Linked DNA regions of Homo sapiens: region 2 is linked to region 1. The links are contacts of gene promoters, found by promoter capture Hi-C in human tissues and cell types (Jung and others, 2019). All regions are on one chromosome and are shown on one strand. The core of a region is centred on a gene start or on the middle of the fragment in contact, and the rest is flanking DNA. Distances in the headings are between cores, read along the strand shown. Region 1 holds the start of S1PR5 (sphingosine-1-phosphate receptor 5). Region 2 overlaps DNM2 (dynamin 2).

What was found. The method cuts DNA at HindIII sites, captures the fragments that hold promoters and counts their contacts. A contact is called where the count stands out against the background at its distance.
Region 2: a fragment that was not itself captured here is called in contact with the fragment with the promoter of S1PR5 in region 1 in 1 of the 25 tissues and cell types used here (thymus).

What each region holds. Positions count from the first base shown.
Region 1 is chr19:10,515,166-10,521,315 of GRCh38, reverse strand. S1PR5 (sphingosine-1-phosphate receptor 5) reads left to right here and starts at 3,869. Exons shown (of 2, transcript NM_030760.5): 1 at 3,869-3,918. RefSeq lists enhancers at 1,962-2,524, 5,392-5,985, 5,986-6,150. The HindIII fragment of the contact is 14,604 bases long and covers 1-6,150 here.
Region 2 is chr19:10,804,176-10,810,325 of GRCh38, reverse strand. It overlaps DNM2 (dynamin 2), which reads right to left. Exons shown (of 21, transcript NM_001005361.3): 13 at 4,359-4,410; 14 at 1,746-1,757. Among named protein-coding and RNA genes, the nearest start is that of MIR199A1, 10 kb to the left of the region's middle. The HindIII fragment of the contact is 9,704 bases long and covers 1-6,150 here.

The DNA.
Region 1 (6,150 bases), core at 2,620-5,119:
AAAAAAAAAAAAAAAAAAAAAAAGGGCAGGGGGAGTGAGGAGGGTGGGAATGGGAGTGGGTGAAGGGGATCTGAGGGTACCATGGGAGGCAGTTTGCCCTCTCGAAGGTGCAGACCCAGCTCTGCAAGAGCGGGCGCTGGGTGGAGCTGCCTCTGTGGGCGAGGGTGCTGGCAGCAGAACTGGCCCAGCGGGTGTGCTGGCCTAGGCATGCTTCAGGCGGGAGGGCTGCTGCAAGACACAGCAGGAACATAGAGGCCAGGGGTGCCCTGAACCCGGGAAGAGACAGTTTGGCCTGTGGGGTGTGGGAGGAGGTATGGGGTGGGGGCGGGTGGTGGCAATGTCTGGGGCTGATTCCTTATGAGCCCATTGCCCTAATTCTTCTTTGGGGATACAGTGGTGACCAATAATAGCTGCACTGACATTTGTGGAGCTCTCATTGTATACCTTGGCTCTGTTCCAACTGTTCATTTCATCTTCAACAACAGCCTTGGAGTGGGTGCGGTTATCTCAATTTTATTTTTATTTTTTTTTTGAGATGGAGTCTCACTGCATTGCTCAGGCTGGAGTGTAGTGGCGCGATCTTGACTCACTACAACTTCCGCCTGCCAGGTTCAGGTGATTCTCCTGCCTCAGCCTCCGGAGTAGCTGGGACTACAGGTGCGCGCCACCACGCCCGGCTAAGTTTTATATTTTTAGTGGAGATGGGGTTTCACCATGTTGGCCAGTCTGGTCTTGAACTCCTGACTTCAGGTGATCTGCCCACCTCGGCCTCTCAAAGTGCTGGGATTACAGGCATGAGCCACTGCACCTGGCTATTATCTCAATTTTACAGATAAGTCCACTGAGGCTCACAGTGGGTATCACTTGCCTGCCTCAAGACCTTGAGTCCTGTCTCACTCCTGTAATCCCAGCACTTTGGGAGGCTGAGGCAGAAGAATTGCTTGAGTCCAGGAGTTCAAGGCCAGCTTAGGTAACCTGGCGAGACCCTGTCTCTACAAAAAATTTTAAAAAGTAGCCAGGTGCAGTGGCTGGCACCTACGGTCCCAGCTACTCTGGAGGTTGGGCAGAGGATTGCTTGAAGCCTGGAAAGTCGAGGCTGCAGGGAGCTGTGATCACGGCACTGTGCCCCAGCCTGGATGACAGAGTGAGGCGCTGTCTCACAAAAGAAAGAAAAATCAAAAAACTGTGAGCCCTTAACCTTTAGGAATCTGGGCAGAGGGACAGACCTGCCTTCCTGGAGCTGAGGCTCTAGGTCAGAGATACACATTAGGAAAGATGAATAAATAAATGAAATGAACAAGGTGGCCGGGCACGGTGGCTCACGCCTGTAATCCCAGCACTTTGGGAGGGGGAGGCGGGCGATTCATCTGAAGTCAGGAGTTGGAGACCAGCCTGGCCAACATGGTGAAACCCCGCCTCTACTAAAAATACAAAAATTAGCTGGGCGGGGTGGTGCATTCCTGTAATCCCAGCTACTCTGGAGGCTGAGGCAGGAGAATTGCTTGAAGCCAGGAGGCGGAGGTTGCAGAGGCGAAGTTTGCAGTGAGCCCAAATCGCACCACTGCACTCCAGCCTGGGCAATAAAGGGAGATTACAAAAAAAAAAAAAAAGCAAAAGCAAGGTGATTTCAGATAATGCCAACTGCCATTTGAGATGAGGGACAGATCAGGGAAGGTCTCTCTGAGGAGGTGACCAGCTGACCAGCTGGGAAGGGGTGGGGAGAAGGGTGCTCCAGGCCACCTGGCCCCCAAGTTCAAAAGTCTTGAAGTGTGTGTGGAACTCGGAGGAGCCCGGGAGGCAGAAGCAGAGTGGAGCAGAGAGAGGCACAGAAGTAACAGAAAGAGACAAATCAGGACGGCATATGGCCTTGTCCTTGCGGGGTCCTCACTGAGGACTTGATCACTTACTCTGAGAAACACAGGGAGCCACGGGAGGGTTTGGAGCAGAAAAGAAATGTGATCTGAGTTTTAAGAACTGTGGCCAGGAGTGTGGAGTGGCAGCTAGGGATGGGACTCCCAACATCTGTCGAGATCCTGGAGCCTGAGTCCCCAGGGTCCCAATTCGTGGGAAAGAAGTTCAGGGAGGCAGCTGGAGAGGCAGGTTGCTGAGCCCGGGACCCGCAGCCGGAAGAGCCCCATTTTCGAGAGAAGTGAGATTGGCGCCTGGGAGGTGTGAAGCAGCCACCTCCCCACCCTGGGGCGCGGCTTCCCCTTTACAGAAGGAGGTCATTTATTGAGCACCTACTGGGTGCCAGCCACAGCCATGCTGGGAGATCTTCAGGGGTCATCCCAGTGGGCACCATTGGAGTTGGCTTGGTCCACAGGACTGGGGAACCTGGCACTGAAGGGTTAACACCGTCCCACCCTGCGGGTCCCATTGGCTGTGTCTTTGAGCAGAGCAGGCAGGAAAGGTTCTGCCCACCGAGGGAACAGCGGGGGCAGGAGGGCTGGGATCCCCAAGGGGCTACATGGGGGCCTGACCCGGCCTGAGTGCCCCCTGAGTTTCCTCCCACGAGGGTATCCCGGATCCACACTTATTCTCAGCCTCTGGCTCATCTCTCCTGGGGCGCCCTCACCCCACCCGCGGCCAGCAGGGCCTGAAGCATCAGGGGCAAAGGGCACGGTCCTGGAGAAGGTCGCAGCAGCGGGACCCAGCCTCCCTTCCTGAATCTGAGGGTGGAAGAGCTGGGACCGTCTGGAAGTTCCTGGGAAGTCGGGGTGGGGGCGTTTCGGGGCCAGCGGGACTGGTCGTTGGAGGAGCAGTGGCCTGGGAGAGGCGTGGGAGAGCATCACAGACAGCAACAAAGAGACACGCAGAGGCAAAGAGACACGCAGAGACAAAGAGACACGCAGGCGAGAGACTCTGAGATCCTCCTGAGAGAGATACAGAGGAAGTGAGGGAGACACTCATTCATTATCTGGGCATGGTTGCAAGCGACTGGAGTCCCAGCAGCTACGTTCAGCCGGCTGAGATGGGAGGATGGCTTGAGCCGCGGAGGTCGAGACTGCAGTGACTTATGATGTTGCCACTGCACTCCACTCTGGGCCACAGAGCAAGATCTTGTCTCAAAAAAAAAAAAAAAAAAGAAATTCTTACATTGCTGGGGTTTACTGTCTGCTAAGGACACAGCCCAGAAACACCATTAATGAGTAAATCACTTTGTCGTCAGCGATAAGGGTGGGAGAGAATCGGTCGGGGGAACACGGAATCCAGGGGGTGGGACAGGAGAGACCCTCCTTATCTGAGGAGCGGCAAGTTCCCATCACAATCCTGCCCGGGCCCGCCCCACCCCCACTCGCCCTGAGCCGGGGGCGGGAGCGGGAAATTGGGAGGGGCCTGTGCCCGGGAGCAGCGGGAACCTATCTGCTGGTGGGAGAGGACTCAGGCTAAGGTGGCCCCCACTGAAGACTCCTGCTAAGCAACCCACTGAAGACCCCTCCGAATCATCGACGGGGCGTCCTTGGGGTGCAGCCCAGGAAGCTCAGTTCACAGGTGGGTGGGCAATGGGAGGGCGCAGTGCCCGGACACCCAGGACAGAGGAGACCCCTCCGCTGGGGAGAAGAGGCTCAGGCTGCGACCGCCCTGCTGCAGAACCCTCCCTTTCCCGCCTCTCCGAGTCCTCCCACCGCGATGGAGCGTCCCTGGGAGGACAGCCCAGGCCCGGAGGGGGCAGCTGAGGGCTCGCCTGTGCCAGTCGCCGCCGGGGCGCGCTCCGGTGCCGCGGCGAGTGGCACAGGCTGGCAGCCATGGGCTGAGTGCCCGGGACCCAAGGGGAGGGGGCAACTGCTGGCGACCGCCGGCCCTTTGCGTCGCTGGCCCGCCCCCTCGCCTGCCAGCTCCAGCCCCGCCCCCGGAGCGGCGTCCGCTCACTCGGTTCAAGGCAGCGCGACTGCGGGTGGCGCACGACCAGGGCGCAGAGTGAGTGGACTGCACTGGACCTTTGGGGGCGCTGGGCTGGGCCTGACCCGGAGGGGGTCGCCCTGGCGGCCACTTTCCCGGTCTAAAAAGGCGCACCACTCCTTGCAGGGAGTTCTCCGAACTTTTCCTGGAGGCCTCTGGGGAGGGGGAAGCTGGGGGCTCCCCAGCTGGGTGCAGGACCTGGGATACGGGGTGAAGGTGGCTGGAATCCCCTGGCCACCCCCTCCTGGCCGGGCCACTGCAAGTTTCCATACTTCAGTCCTGCTGCCGGGCAAGCTGGGCGGATGGGGTTGGCCTCCCCCTCAGAGCATGTGTAACCCTGTCTCCCTGTATTTGGGCTCCCCACCTCCAGCATGGGTGAGCCAGCGACTTCCTGTCTATGTTTGCCTGCCTTGATTCTCTGTGTGTGACTGAAGCTCTCTGGGATGTCCGCATCCCTGCCTTGTGCAAAAGAGATCCATTCCCCTCCCCAGGCCTTGGCTTTCTCATCTGGACTTGCATGGGGACTATTTGTGCATGGATGTTTGTGTGGGAGCATGGAAACCTTTGCGCCTGCTTCGATACGAAGCATTTCTTTTGAGCTTCAGTTTTCTCATCTGTAAATTAGGACTAAAGGAAGTGGGGATTAATAAGGTCACAGAGGCAGGTGAGGAGTGTTATTACAGTTTAATGACATGTGTGCCCCTCTGTAAGAGTCTGTTTGCCTCTTGTGGATTCTCTCTCCTGTCCTCAGGCTCTGCCTTAGTAAAATGAGTGAATAGGATCAACTTTTTTTTTTTTTTTTTTTTTTGAGACGGAGTTTCTCTCTTGTCACCCAGGCTGGAGAGCAGGGGTGCGATCATGGCTCACTGCAGCCTCGGCCTCCCAGGCTCAAGTGATCCTCCCGCCTCAGTCTCTTGAGTAGCTGGGACTATAGGGGCATAACACCACACCTGGCTAATTTTTAAATTTTTTTGTAGAGATGAAGTCTTAGTATGTTGCCCAAGCTGGTGTCGAACTCCTGGGCTCAAGTGATACTCCCACCTCGGCCTCCCAAAGTGCTGGGATTACAGGCGAAAGCCACTGTGCCTGGCCAAGGAGCAACTTTCTCATGGGGTTTTGGGTGGATGAGGGGGTTTTGGCAGGAAAAAGCTTTGTATGCAGTGAGACAAGAGTGTGGAGTGTGGTGCACTGGGCCCCAGGCTAGTGTGAGTGGAGGTTGTGAAATTGTGGCCTGTGCCACTGGGTGGGAGACCCTGTATTCGTGTGACTGAATTTTGGTCGCTGTGTTTTTCTGCCTGCGTCACTCTGTTCCTGTATGATGTATTTTTTAGTTTCCCTGATAGTGTGTGACTGTGTGTTTTGCCCTTGTAGTGTGTCGCTGTATTTGTGTGTCTCTTTCTGTGTGTGTTGCGTTTGTGTGCGTTCTGTGTGTTTACTGTTACGTCTCTGGAACTCCCTGCTTGTGTGTTTGTGTGTGTGTGTTTGAGACAAAGTCTTGCTCTGTTGTCCTGGCTGGAGTACAGTGGCACAATCAATGCTCACTGACTGCAGCCTTGACCCCGCGGGCTCAAGTGATCCTCTCACCTCAGCTGGGACTCCACTGAGTAGCTTGGACTATAGGCATACACCAACACGTCCCGGCTAATTTTTGTAGAAACGGGGTTCTCCTATGTTGTCCAGGCTAATCTCGAACTCCTGGGCCTCAAACAATCCTCCCGCCTCAGCCTCCCAAAGTGCTGGAATTACAGGAGTGAGCCACCACACCCAGCCGTGTGTGTGTTTGGTGGGGAGGGGGGGTGTTTTGAGACAGAGTCTCGCTCTGCCACCTAGGTTGGAGTGCAGTGATGCGATCTCGGCTCACTGCAACCTCCGCCTCCTGGGTTCAAATGATTCTTCTGCCTCAGCCTCTGGAGTAGCTGGGACTACAGGCACGTGCCACCATGCCTGGCTAATTTTTTGTGTTTTTAGCAGAGACGGAGGGGTTCACCGTGTTAGCCAGGATGGTCTCGATCTCCTGACCTCGTGATCTGCCCCCCTTGGCCTCCCAGGCCTGAGCCACTGCCTCAGGCCTGAGCCTGGGGGGATTACAGGCGGGGATTACAGGCCTGAGCCACCGCGCCCAGCCATGTGTGAACCACCGCGCCCAGCCATTCATGTGTTATTAATGTCCCTTTTTTTGGGACTATGTCACCTTGTTCCCTCGTGATATTATTTGTGTGTATGTCTGTCTCCACGGACTCTATCCCTCCA
Region 2 (6,150 bases), core at 1,144-3,643, 290 kb before region 1:
GCATCCAAGGGACACATCCCAATGGGACTGGGCTTAGAAGGAAGTAGGGGTGGGAGAGACAGAAGAGGCGGCAGGCCGTTGCGGGCTAGGGTGCACAGTGACAGGCAGGCAGGCACATGGGGCGGTATGGGTGGCAGGGCAGGCAGGGGGCGGCAAAGCAGGGATCCTCTGGCAGGCTGCTCCAGTCTCTTTCCTGGGTGAGGGTCCTGGCCTGAGTCTCCCGGGTAGAGATGGGAACCACAGATGGGAGACCCAGAGGCCACGGCCACGCTCATGACGGGGCTGGGCTATGTGGCCTCTGGTAGGAAAAGAGGAACCCCTAAACCTCTTGGGGTACAAGGGAGAAGCAGGTTCCTGGTCTTGGCCTGGCAAATTCAAAGGGACTGGGGGGAACACATGAGGAACCTGAAAACCACAAGCCCGAGGCCAACTAATTCCTCCCGTCACTGCCCCACCCATGGCCCTATCTGCACACCCAGGCCCTGGGAGCAGCGAGGCCCTGGCATAGGATCGGCTCAGCTACAAGAAAGACCCTGGGATTGCCAGAAGAGCCCCGCCAGAGGGCAGTGGCAGGGATGACCAGCGCCTTGGTGGCTGGCAGTGGGAGAATGTCCAGCAAAAGGGAGCCCCTGCTAGGACTGGAGGCCCAGGCTGTGCTGTCCAAGTGTAAGAGCCGGGCTGAGGCCGGCTGCCTAGAGGTGAGCTCCTTGAGCTGGGTTCAGTTCTCAGCTATGAGTAGCAGGCTGCTTCCCGCTGGGCTGGGCTGGACTGGGCCTCACGCCCATCTCACGCCCCACACTGGGCCCCAGCTGAGGGTTCTGCACAAAGGAAGGAGGTGTTACCCACAGCAGGGATGGACAGCAAATATGATTCATCTCGGGAGCCATGTCAATCGACTGGTACAAGATACCTGAAGCACTGTGGTGAGAATTCTGGGCGTGGCAGGAAACGGTGCTAGGATCAATTAGTGTTGCCTGTCACAGGCCAAGGATAGGAGAAAGGGTAAGTGGAACAGAAGAGCCTCATCAATTTATCTGGAGGACAAGAGGCAGCATCTAGGAAAGAGGCTCCTGATTGACTAGTCATGCCTGCCATGCATAGAGAAGAGGGTATCATATAGGGAGAAAAACAATACCTTAATCACTTAGCCACATCTGCTATAGAACAGGAGTGCTGGCAAGCTTATTTGGAAAGAATGCTAGGATTGCTTAGCAATGTCTGCCATGGGCGTGTGCTAGAGGAGCGGCACAAGGCAAAGAGTGCTAGATCAACTAGCCATGTCTGCCATGGGCACAAGAGGGCAAGATTTCTGCCATGTGGAAAAATATGCTCTGATCCATGAGTGACATCTGCATAGGAGATAGAAGGAGGAGGGGCAGTGCCAAGAATGAATTCTGGTCTGGCTTAAGCGAGATCTTCCACAGCCAGGGATGTGAGGGGAGGCAGGGGCGGTGTGTAAGTATTTGCCATCCCTGACCTACAGGAAACCAGGAAAACCTGCCAGGAACTGGCTGCAGAAGTGCGCCTTCAAGGGTGGCGGTCCAGTTAGTGCCTGTGTGAGTCGACTTATACCCAGGGCAACGTGCAGTCCAGCGCCGGCTGCGGCATGGGGTTTCCAGGTTAGCTCGATTTTTAGTATTTTTGTTATTTGGAGGGGATGGGGAACAGGGAATATTAGGGGTGGGCGGGGTCTCCATCACCACTAGATTCTCTAATGTTTGCTACCACACTAAGCATGTACTTACCAGGATCTCCCCCTTTGAATATGCAAAGTTAGGGTTGTGGGTAAATCAGGGAAGAGCAGGCAAAGGAAAAGAGATGGAAGGGACGTGAAGGGGACAAAGAAAAAGCAGGAAAAGCACAAAAACAGGAGAAGAGAAGAGCAGGGGAAAAAACAGCAAAAGAAAAAAAATTACATGCTATTAATCATATTCATGGTGTTAATATTTAATTCATTATTATCTCAAGAAACAAAAAAGCAACAACATATGTATTACCTACGGCAAGCGCAAAAATAAATCATGCAATGGTTACGTTCTTCCTTCCAGTAGGCTCTATGATCGTGCAAGGTACATGGTGGAGTCCCCGCCCCCACCCCTGCCCAATGGGGAGAAGGGAGGGACATAGGCAGAAATTTTGCGAAGATTATGGTTTCCTTTTCTTTCTTTCTTTTTTTTTTTCCTGATATGGAGTCTCGCTCAGCCGCCCAGGCCAGAGTGCAGTGGTGTGATCCTGGCTCACCACAACCACCATCTCCTGGGTTCAAGTGATTCTCCTGTCTCAACCTCCCGAGTAGGTGGAATTATAGGCACCCACCATCATGCCAGGCTAATTTTTTGTATTTTAGTAGAGACGGGGTTTCACCATGTTGGCCAGGCTGTTCTCTAACTCTTGACCTCAGGTGATCCGCCCGCCTCGGCCTCCCAAAGTGCTAGGACTACAGGTGTGAGCCACCGTGCCCGTCCAGGTTTTCTTAAAAATTAATGATAAAGGCTGGCATGATAATCCCAGCACTTTGTCCGGGCGAGGCGGGTGGATCACCTGGGGTCAGGAGTTCGAGACCAGCCTGGCCAACATGGTGAAACCCTGTCTCTACTAAAAATACAGAAATTAGTCAGGGGTGGTGGCAGGCTCCTGTAATCGTCGCTACTCAGAAGGCTGAGGCAGGAGAATCACACGAAGCTAGGAGGCGGAGGTTGTGGTGAGCTGAGACCGCGCCACTGCACTCCAGCCTTGGTGGCAGAGTGAGACTCTGTCTCAAAAAAAAAAAAAAAAAAAAAAAAAAAGGCTGGACGTGATGGCTCACGCTTGTAATTCCAGCACTTTGGGAGGCCGAGGCGGGTGGATCACCAGGTCAGGAGTTTGAGACCAGCCTGGCCAAGATGGTGAAACCCCCTCTCTACTAAAAATACAAAAAAATTAGCTGGGCGTGCTGGCGGGCGCCTGTAATCCCAGCTACTCAGGAGGCTGAGGCAGAGAATTGCTTGAACCCGGGAGGTGGAGGTTGCAGTGAGCTGAAATCGTGCCACTGCACTCCAGCTGGGACACAGAGCAAGGCTCCATCTCAAGAAAAAAATAAAAAAAAATTAGCCTGGTGTTGTGGTGAGCACCTGTAATCCCAGCTACTGAGGAGGCTGAACCAGGAGAATCGCTTGAACCTGGGAGGCAGAGGTTGCAGTGAGCCAAGATTGCGCCACTGCACTGCAGCCCAGGTGACAATGCGAGACTCTGTGTCAAAATAATAATAATAATAATAAGGTACTGAAGGCAGGCATTGATACAGCCGTTCATATTTCACAAGGCCTCTAGCTGGGTTAAGATGTCAAGGTACAACCCTTTGTGGCTCAGGGCTTCTCCAGGTGTGGGGCTTCAACTATCCCAAGCTCCCCTGAGCTGCTAGTGACAATGTAGTTTCCAGCGGCTCTCACCTAGGGGCTCCCAATCCCTGGGGCTGTGTTGGAAAGCTCAAAGAGGTCACAGACCCCCGCTCAAGGGAAAAATTCTTATTTATATCTTTATTATTATTATTTTTGGAGACAGAGTCTGGCCCTGTCACCCACACTGGAGTGCGGTGGCGCAATCTTGGCTCACTGCAACCTCCGCCTCCAAGGTTCAAGCAATCCTCCTGCCTCAGCCTCCTGAGTAGCTGGGATTACAGGCGCGTGCCACCACGCCTGGTTAATTTTTTGTATTTTTAGTAGAGATGGGGTTTTTGCCATGTTAGCCAGGCTGGTCTCAAACTCCTGAGCTCAGGCAATCCGCCCGCCTCAGCCTCCTAACATGCTAGAATTACAGGTGTGAGCTATCGTGCCCAGCCTATTATTAATTTTTAAGATGAGGTCTCATTGTATTGCCCCGGATGGTCATGAACTGCTGGGCTCAAGTGACCCTCCCACCTTGGCCTCCTAAGTAGCTGGGGTGATAGGCATGAGCCCACCACTCCCAGGTAATTTTTAAATATTATTATTTGTAGAGACAGAGTCTTTCTATGTTGCCCAGGCTGGTCTCAAACTCTTAGCCTCAAGTGATCCTCCCACCTCGGCCTCCCAAAATGCTGGGATTACAGGTGTGAGCTACTGTGCCCAGCCAAGAGTCAAGTTCTAACCCTGGCCTTGGATGGCACATAGGGCCTTCTGGGTGGGTAAAATGTGCCCACTAGGCCCTGCCAGAGTGTTGGCTCTCAGGCCATCTCCCAGAATTATCAATTCCTAAGTGGCCTCTAGAGAGAGCAGATGGCCTGGTACTGAGGCTGTGGGGTGGGGCTTTACACAGGCCGAGCTCCATCACGGGGGCTTAGCTGTCACTTAGCGTCCTCCCGCCCCCAGGGTAGAGCGGGAGACTGCAGAGGGGTGTGCTACCTGATTGGGGATGGCTCTCTTCTTGTTCAGCTGCGTGCTCCTCTGCTGGGCACTGAAACCAAAGAACAGACAGGGTTCACGTGGACAAGATGCCGGGGGGGAAGAAGGGGAAGAGGCGAATGTGGCCGTTCTCTCCCTGGGGACCAAGTGAGCAGCCACAGGTAGAGGCAGAGAGAAGCCCCCTGCACACACAGAGCTGCGCAAGGGAAACGGCCTGGGCACACGGAACAAGTAAATGTATCTGGTTCAATTGAGGCTTCTAGGCCCTCATCTCAGCCGACTTACTAAAGCGCAGGTTACTTCCAGATGTCACTAGAATCCCGGAGTTTCTAAGGGGAAGTGTGAGAAGGTGTTGCCTAAGATGAGTGCAGTGGCGCAATCACAGCTCACTGCAGCCTTGACCCTCCCGGGCTCAAGTAGTTCCCCTGCCTCAGTCTCCCGAGTAGCTGGAACCACAGGTGCATACCACCATGCTCAGCTAATTTTTGATTTTTTGTAGAGACGAGGTTTCACTGTGTTGCCCAGGCTGGTCTTAAATTCCTAGACTCAAGGGATCTGCCTGGCTCCACCTCCCAAAGTGCTGGCATTACAGGCATGAGCCACTGCACCTGGCCCTTCTTCCTACTCTTCTCATCATTTGATCCCAACACCAGCCTGTAAGTGGCTCTAACCACAGAGCCATCCAGTCTTAGACATCAGACTGTGGGACAGCTGCTGGTCATGAAATGACACATATCTTGCATGACTCCTGACCCAAATTTAGAGGACATCCAAGGTCGACAGGGTGTGTTTCTATAAGGTTCCTTATTCATCCACAATCCCAGATCTCTTTTCTTCTTTATCCATCCTACTTCCTGGCTAGTTCATGCCGGCATAGACAAATCCCACTATATTTTATATGTGGACACCTACTCCACCACCTTACGGTTCTAATATATTTTCTACTCTGACAATCATATCACCACTTGCAAACAACATATATCTCCTGTTACTTATCCATCATATTTTCTTGTCTTTTCTTATTGCTTTGGCTGAAACTTTCAGAACAATATGGAAAAGCAAGTCAGCTTGGTCACCTTCCTTTGCTGACTACCTCGGGGGTTTTGTTTTAAAGTCCAAGTTGGCTGTAGGATAAGGGAGAAAGTAGGCTTCTGTTTCTAGATCAGGAAAGGCTGGAAAACTAAGAACAAAGGCAGAATTTTATCCAGTGATATTCCCAACATTCAGTAAGTTTATTATAGGGCTTCTTATCTGGGCTATTTATTTACTTATTTATTTTTGAGACAGAGTCTCACTCTGTCACCCAGGCTGGAGAGCCCTGGTGTGATCATGGCTCAGCACAGCCTTGACTTCCTGGGCTCAGGTCATTCTCCCACCTCAGCCTCCTAAGTAGCTGAGATTACGCACCACCACCATGCCCAGTTAATTTTTGTATTTTTTGTAGAGACAGGGTTTCACCATGTTTCCCAGGCTGGTCTCAAACTCCTGGGCTCCAGCAATCGACCCACCTTGGCCTCCTGCAAAGTATTGGGATTACAGGCATGAGCCACTGCGCCAGGCTTGGGCCCTGTTTATAATATACATTTGGAGGGCAATGGGAAGCCCAGAACATTCAAGCACAAGAAGGATTTTCATCAACAGCATCTGAAGGAGGTGGCACTGAGCTGAGCCAACCTCCACAGTGATGGCTGGGTGACAGTGAGGTTCCAGAGGTGCTATTTCCTAAGGGCCTCCTGGCTCCCATCCTTGCCAGGGCTCCCTCAAATAGCAGCCCACAAGGTGGCCCCTCTCC